Linked DNA regions of Homo sapiens: region 1 is linked to region 2. The links are contacts of gene promoters, found by promoter capture Hi-C in human tissues and cell types (Jung and others, 2019). All regions are on one chromosome and are shown on one strand. The core of a region is centred on a gene start or on the middle of the fragment in contact, and the rest is flanking DNA. Distances in the headings are between cores, read along the strand shown. Region 1 has its middle 16 kb from the start of FOXL3. Region 2 holds the start of PRKAR1B (protein kinase cAMP-dependent type I regulatory subunit beta).

Region 1 (3,817 bases), core at 1,080-3,579, 450 kb after region 2:
TTTTCTGGTTGACAGTTGGTTGAGTTTGTCTAAAGACCTGGGATCCACAGAAAGGAAATATTCAGGTTAAGATAAAAGATTGTGGAGACCACGGTTTTTTTGGAGTCTCATAATGGCTGCCCTTAGAGACAATCAATGACAAATGTTTCCTATTCAGACATTTACAAGGTGCTAGGCTCTCAGTTAATCTCTTCAGGATTGGGAGGGCCTGGAAGAAAAAGATCTAGCTATGTTACTAGAGAGTCTCTACAGATGCAAGATGTTCCCCCACAAAGGACGGCTTTGCACGGCCATTTCAGAAACATGTTTTGGGGTAAACAATTTTTATTTTCTTCTTTGCCACATAATGTAATGCTAGAGTCAGACTGGAAAGTAAGCCATGATACACAGGGTTAAATAAAACCCATCTGATGAGAATTTATGGTTTGTAGGGCATGATACCCCAGGTCCCTTAGACAGAAATACGGGCAAGATAAGAAAAAGCCAGAGCTTAGTCCTCGCTCTGTGGAATCATTAGCTGAGAGTGAACTCACAGAACAGAGACTTCACTGACCACACACAGCATAGAACACAGACTTCATAAAATTCACTCAGAAAAGTCACTAAATAAACAGAAATACTAAAAATAAGCAGCAACAAAATAAACTGAAACCAAAAAAACTACATAAGCAGCAATCCGTTGGTTCCAATTGTTTTTGCCAGTTTATTCATTGCTTTTATGAACAGATGGATTTTGGAGTTCCCTGCTCCAAATGTGGGGAGAGAGGAGATTTTCATAGCTGCTACATCATAATATTCCAAATGTCTACTTTTCAGCAAAAAATTACAAGGCATGCAAAGAAACAAGAAACTATGGCCCATAGATGCTAAAGGAAAAGAAAAAAAGATCAACTGAACCTCTCTCAGAAGAAGCAGACACATTAGACGAAGACTTTAATCAACTATTTAAAGTATGTTTAGGAGCTAAAAGAAACAGTGGGTGATAACAGAAAAACTTCAACTGAATTAAATTTAAAGAGTTTAATTGAACAATGAATGATTCACACATCAGGCAGCCCCCAGAATCACAGCAGATTCAAAGAGGCTCCAGTGCAGCCACGTGGTGGAAGAAGATTTATAGATAAAAAAAAGGGAAGAGAGGTACAGAAATCAGAAGTAAGGTACAGAATGGCTGGATCGGTCACAGCTTGGTGTTTGCCTTATTTGAACACAGTTTGAACACTCAGCAGTGTGTGAGTGGTTGAACTATGGCTGCTGGAATTGGCCAAGACTCAGCTATTGTTACAGGTGCAGATTCCTAAGTTAGGTTTTCAATCTTATCTACCTGTTAAGCTAGGTTGCAGTTCATCCACAAGTACTCAAATATAGAAGTATGGAGTCCTTCTCAGGCCATATTTAATTGGGTTTAACATGGGCAAAGAAAGAAAACCAGGAGAATAATGTTTGAACAAATAGAGAATTTCAATAAAGAGATAGAAATTATGAAAATTACCTGGCTGGGTGCGGTGGCTCACCCCTGTAATCCCAGCACTTCGGGAGGCCGAGGCGGGCAGATCACGAAGTCAGGAGATCGAGACTATCCTGGTTAACATGGTGAAACCGTGTCTTTACTAAAAATACAAAAATTAGCCGAGTGTGGTGGCGGGCACCTGTAGTCCCAGCTACTCGGGAGGCTGAGGCGGGAGAATGGCATGAACCTGGGAGGCAGAGCTTGCAGTGAGCTGAGATCACACCACTGCACTCCAGCCTGGGTGACAGAGTGAGACTCGACTCCATCTCAAAAAAAAAAAAAAAGAAGAAATTATGAAAATTACCCAAACAGAATTTTTAGAGATGAAAACTAAAATAACTGAGATGAAAATTTCACTAGAGAGGTTCAATGGCAGATTTGAGCAGGCAGAAAAAGAAAATTAGTGACTTGAAGACAAGTCAATTGAGATTATCCAGTTTGAGGATCAGAAAGAAAAATGAATAAAGAAAAATGAGCAAAGCCGGAGAGATCTGTGGGCCCTGACGAGCCCCTAACTGTGCATAATAGGAGACCCAGAAGGAGAGGAGAGTGAGGAAGGGACAGAGGATACCTGAAGAAATAATGGCCAAAAAGTCACAAATGAGATGAAATACATAACTCTACACATCCGAGAAGCTCAGTGAATTCCAAGTAAGGTCAACTCAGAGATCCTCACGAAGTTGTCAAAGGCCATCGAGTACTGAAAGCAGAGAGAGAAATGCCTCGCGGCCTGAGTGGGTCTGTGGTTTGGTCCCTTATGGCCACATGGTGGCTCTTTCTGTCATGTGGAGTCATTCTTATTTTTTATCAAGAGCTTACAATGTGGTCGACGTGGTTGGGCTATGCCAGTGAACAATAATCGTAGTAAAAAACCTGCCCTGTCTTCCATCTTCATGGGCTTAGGTTCTATCGGAGGAGACAAATTATTGACCAAAAGGTGACTAAAATGATAATCTAGGTGAGAAAAGTACTACGGGGAAAGAAACATAGCAGGGTCATGGGTCCAGGGTGTGTGTGCCTGGGTGTGTGTGTGCACACGAGTGTGTGGGTGGTCATGGGCTGGCCACAGCAGTCTCCCTGTGTGTCTGGGTGTGTGTGTGCACGCATGGGTGTGTGGGTGGTCACGGGCTGGTCACAGTAGGCTCCCCCATGAGATGACATCTATGCACAGACCCAAAAGAGGGGACGCACCAGCCATGCGAGGCTGAGGGAGGCACAGGGCAGAGGGCTGTGCGGGTGAATGCCCACTGACCGAGAAGCAGCCAGGCCTGGGGCTGAAGGAGAACCCGTGAGAGGAAGAGAAGCAGGATGATCTTAGCACGTGGACCGAGGCCACCTGCAGAGGACCCCGAAGGCCTTTGTGAGGACTCTGCCTTGCCCTCGTGTGGGATGGGGATGGTGCGTGAAGGAGAGGGGGTGTGATCTGCTCACACATTTACGGGTCCCTTGGACTGCGAGCTGAGGAGGGGCTCTTGTGAGGGTCACTGTGCAGGCCGCTGGGATTCAGAACCAGGAGGCGACTTCTGTGTCTGGGAACGTGCACGGTGGGGGCGTGGAGGGAGGGGCTCTTGTGAGGGTCACTGTGCAGGCCACTGGGACTCAGAACCAGGAGGTGACTTCGGTGTCTGGGAACGTGCACAGTGGGGGCGTGGAGGGAGGGGCTGTTCTTCCATCTCCAGAAGTGGAGCTCAGCACGTGAGGGGTGCTGGGGGAGGAGAAGAGTCAGGGGAGTTGTTACTGATGATGAGGGAAGGCTGCGTGGGGAGAACCTTCTGTGGGGGAGAGTGCGGGATCAGCTTCGGCGGAATTTGGGATGTCCAGCAGCCATCCCAGGGAGAGGAAATCTGGGATGCAGGCACGTGGACTTGGGAAGTGTTTCTGGAGTGCTCCCTCCCCGCTCCTCCCTGCAGGGGCCTCAGGTGCCGCTCCTCCTCCACATCCTCAGCCGTGCTCCCTCCCTGCTCCTCCCTGCAGGGGTCTGAGACGCCACTCCTCCTCCTCCACATCCTCAGCCGTGCTCCCTCCCCGCTCCTCCCTGCAGGGGCCTCAGATGCTGTCCCTCCTCCACATCATCAGCCGTGCTCCCTCCCCACTCCTCCCTGCAGGGGACTCAGATGCTGTCCCTCCTCCACATCCTCAGCCGTGCTCCCTCCTCGCTCCCCCCTGCAGGGGCCTCAGATGCTGCTCCTCCTCCACATCCTCAGCCTCTGCCTGGGAGGAGAGGGGAATGGGCGGGCAGGAGCTGACCCCGTCCCTAAACAGGGCCCTGAGTTGTGCGTACACATCTTTTCCTCCAGACAATTCATG
Region 2 (3,701 bases), core at 970-3,469:
GAGAGCTCTGTACCGCCCGGCACAGGAAGAGGCTCAGGGACAAGCGTCCCACCCTGATGACACCTGTGCAACCCAGAGGCTTAGGAGGACCAGCGGGGAAAGGCTGGGGGTGCAAACCCATTGTGGCTGAAGACCAGAGAGCCTGGACCTGCTGAAGCCAAGGTGGAGGCCTGACGGGGACACTGGCCAGAGGAAAGAAGCCGAGCCCAGAAGACAGAGGCGAGGCCACACTCCCAGCCCCACCTGAGACGAGACCCCAGGCTCCTCCAGGAAGCTGGGCCAGCACCACTCCAGGCAAAGCCACTGCACTTCCTATTTGTAAAGTCCCCGCAGAAAGTCAGAACAAGAGGTGGCAGGCGCCTGTAATCCCAGCTACTTGGGAGGCTGAGGCAGGAGAATCGCTTGAACTCAGGAGGCGGAGGTTGCAGTGAGCTGAGATCGCCCCACTGCACTCCAGCCTGGGAGACAGAGTGAAACCCTGTCTCAAAAAAAAAAAAAAAAAAAGTCAGAACCAAAGGGTCTCTGGCATCCAGGCCGCCTCTTGCCTCAGCTCTGCACTACTTGGGGCCCGTCTGGGAAACGGCTATTCCAGTGAGACTTTGGGTGAGCGCCTCAACCTCTCTGCCGTTGCCCAGTGTGACCGAGACCAGAGGTGAGGCCCCCCACCCAGGGGAGAGGAAGGCCAGAGGTGCTGGAGATGAGGGGATGCTCCAGGCAGAGGCACAGTCCCTCACCCCACAGCAACCAGTGAGCACATACCCCAGCAGGCTGCGCTTGGGGCTGGGGCACAGATGGGCACAGTGCTGTCCTGTGGAACCTACGGTCCAGGGAGGGAGCTCGTGGGGCTGATGTACAGACTGGGTAGGGAAGTGGTTGAGGATGAAGAAGAAATACATTAAATGCCAGGAATTCTCAATGGCCATGTCCATCCAGCCCAAGGTTCTTCCCCAAGCTCCACAGGAGTTCTGGACCATGTGAAATCCAAAGTTAACCAACGTGGAAATCTCGGCATTTCCCCAAGTCCAGCTCTTCCTCTACTTCTGGAATCTATTCTCCACGCAGCTGCAGTGATCTTTTAACAACCTGAACTCGGGTCTATCACTTCTATTGACACCCCCTGCACTTCCCACTACATTCAGACCATCACTGGGACATCACTGGGACGGCCTGAGCTGGCCAGATCCCTCACTGCTTTCCTGCTCCCTACCGCCCACGGATTTATAGCATCAGTGTTCCCTCCTTCGGAAAGCCTTCCCGCCAGCAGGAAGCAGGCGCCTGCTATCATTCCACATCCCAGCCAGGGGAGGGAAAGGGCAAGACCCTGCAGGAATGGCCAGCTAAGGAAAGGGAACGACCGGATCAGATCAGAGCTCTAAAAAAGATGGGGAACGTTATAAAGTGGAGGGGAGAAGCGGCCTCCTTCCACTTAGGACAGTGGTCCAAGCCAGAGCGGAAAGGCAGGGGAGTAGGATGAATGGGACAGAAAGTGAAATGACCAGAGCAGAGTCTCAAAGCGCGTGCCCTCAACCAGGTGCAAGTCCTGCAAGCCCCCGAGGGAAGGAAAGGGGGCAGCTATCAGGGCACACCCCACCCCAAACCGCCTAACAGGAATTTCTGCGGTGGTTTCCAGGTATCTGGACAGAAGCGCTGGCTCGTGGGCCCGGGTGGGGTGGAGGGGGCTCAGGCAGGGAGGAGGGTGGGAGGTGAGGGTCGCGGGAGGGCGGCGTGCAAGGAGGAGGATGGCACAGGATAGGCAGGTGGAGGGGGCACAGGGAGCAGGCAGGTGGGGGGCGGGGCTTGGGGCGTGGAGGGTGGAGGCGGGGAGCAAGGGGACAGGGGAGTGAGGTGAGTGAGGGCCAAGCAGGAACAGGGGTCACGGGGCAAGGAGCACGTGGCAGCGCAGGAAACAGGTACATGGGGGTAGAGGACAAGGGAGCAGCTGAAGGGCGCGTTGGTGGCGGGACGTGAGGCAGGGGAAGCAGTGGTGGTGGGAGGAGGGGGCCGGGCGGGGTGCTTTGGGGCAGGCGGGTGGGGGAAGCGGCGCATGGGGGGTCCGGGATGTTGGGGGGTGCGGGCGTGGAGGGGGGCGGGGCCGAGCCGCGGGGGTTGTGAGAGGGGCCGCGGAGGTGGAGGTGGGGGTGAGAGTGTGGGGTGGCGTGTGGGAGCGGGGCCCGGGGTGCTCACCGGGCGTGGCCTGCGCCAGGGCGGCGGCGCAGCTGCAGCTCTCGCGGCGCACGGCGGCGAAGGGGTCGAGCAGGGAGCAGCGCAGCGCGCGCAGAGCGTCGTCCAGGTGGGGCGCGAGCGCGGCGCCGCACAGGTCCACGGCCAGGCCCAGCAGCTGCACAAGCGCCAGGCGCAGCTCCTCACAGGCCTCGGGCGGGCGGCGCGCGGGCACGGGGCCGGCCAAGCGCGCGGCGAGCGCGGGCAGCAGGCGCGGCAGGGCATCGCGGGGCCGCGCGGCGCGGCGCAGGCCCAGATCCAGCAGGTGCACTGCCAGCGCGCGGCAGCCCTCGGCGGGGTCGCTCAGGCAGCGCAGCAAGCGCGGCAGCAGTAGGCGCGCCCAGGGGCCCTGGAAAGCGGTGGGGTCGGCGGCAGGGCCTGGCTCCTCCAGCGCGCGCCGCAGGGCCTCCAAGGCGCGCCGCCGGCCCGGCTTGCTGTCGGCCTCCAGCCCCGGCAGCAGGCGGCTCAGGGCGCGGCTCAGCTCCACCGCCTCAGCCGTCTCGGCCCCCTCAGCCGGGTGTGGGGCCGCCACGGCCTCCGCCACCCCCAGCGCCGCCATCTTGCCCGCGTCGCCGGTCACTAAGGGGAACAGCGCTTTCGCGACTCTCAGCGCAGATTACGGCAGCACTTCCGGTCCGCGCTGCGGGCGGGGCGCCGGGCTACTTCCTCCCCGCCGGTGCGCACGTGGGCCTGTGCTCTTGTCGTGCTCGCCCGCTGTCCCCCTCTGTCGCCGGAACCCCCGCCAGCCTGCCTGCTGGGCCTTGTCCTGTCCCCATTGTACAGATGGGGAAGGTCTCGGGAGGGTGCAGCTCGCCCGGGATGCGGGTCCCGGGCTATAGGCCTGGGCCTGCCCCTAGGGAAGCCTGCCCTGCAGCCTAGGGGGCTTGGAGAAGGAACCTGAGTGGTCCCGCCTGGGACCAGGGTAGCCGGGAAGCCCCTGTTTGAGCCGCCTAGAGCCCCTCTGGCTTTGGGAAGGTCCGTTCCAGGAGGGAAGGACGCTGGTTCTGTGGACTGGATCCCCCTGTGGTGTAAGACAGGTGCCTGGTCTGGGCTTCACGTGCAGCCTGTCATTAGATCTCAGGCGTAGCCGCCCAATAGGTTCGCCTTACTCGCTGCCCAGGTAGAGCCAATTTATCAAGACAGGGGAATTGCAATAGAGAGTTTAATGCATGCAGAAACTGGCTGCATGCAGAAACTGGCTGCATGCAGAAACTGGCTAAAGGACACTGGAGCTTTATTGCTCAAACCAGGTTCTGAAAATCCTGAGATGGGTCATCTAAGGATAATTAGGCAGGTAGGGGGCCAGGGAGAGGGCAGTGCTTATTGGTCGGGTTGGAGATGAAACCATGGAGAGTCAAAGTTGATTCTCTTGCTGTCTTCTGTTCCTGGGTGGGATCACAGAACTGGTTGAGCCAGATTAGTGGTGTGGGTGGTGGCACCTGGTGCATCAGAATGCAGAGCCTGAAAAATATCTTGAGCAC

The links. The method cuts DNA at HindIII sites, captures the fragments that hold promoters and counts their contacts. A contact is called where the count stands out against the background at its distance.
Region 1: a fragment that was not itself captured here is called in contact with the fragment with the promoter of PRKAR1B in region 2 in 1 of the 25 tissues and cell types used here (lymphoblastoid cells).

The regions. Positions count from the first base shown.
Region 1 is chr7:271,791-275,607 of GRCh38, reverse strand. No RefSeq gene overlaps it. Among named protein-coding and RNA genes, the nearest start is that of FOXL3, 16 kb to the left of the region's middle. The HindIII fragment of the contact is 9,029 bases long and covers 1-3,817 here.
Region 2 is chr7:725,799-729,499 of GRCh38, reverse strand. PRKAR1B (protein kinase cAMP-dependent type I regulatory subunit beta) reads left to right here and starts at 2,219. Exons shown (of 11, transcript NM_001164760.2): 1 at 2,219-2,290. DNAAF5 (dynein axonemal assembly factor 5) reads right to left here and starts at 2,801. Exons shown (of 13, transcript NM_017802.4): 1 at 2,185-2,801. The coding sequence starts at 2,779. RefSeq lists silencers at 1,939-2,018, 2,059-2,168, 2,229-2,278, 2,529-2,728. The HindIII fragment of the contact is 22,808 bases long and covers 1-3,701 here.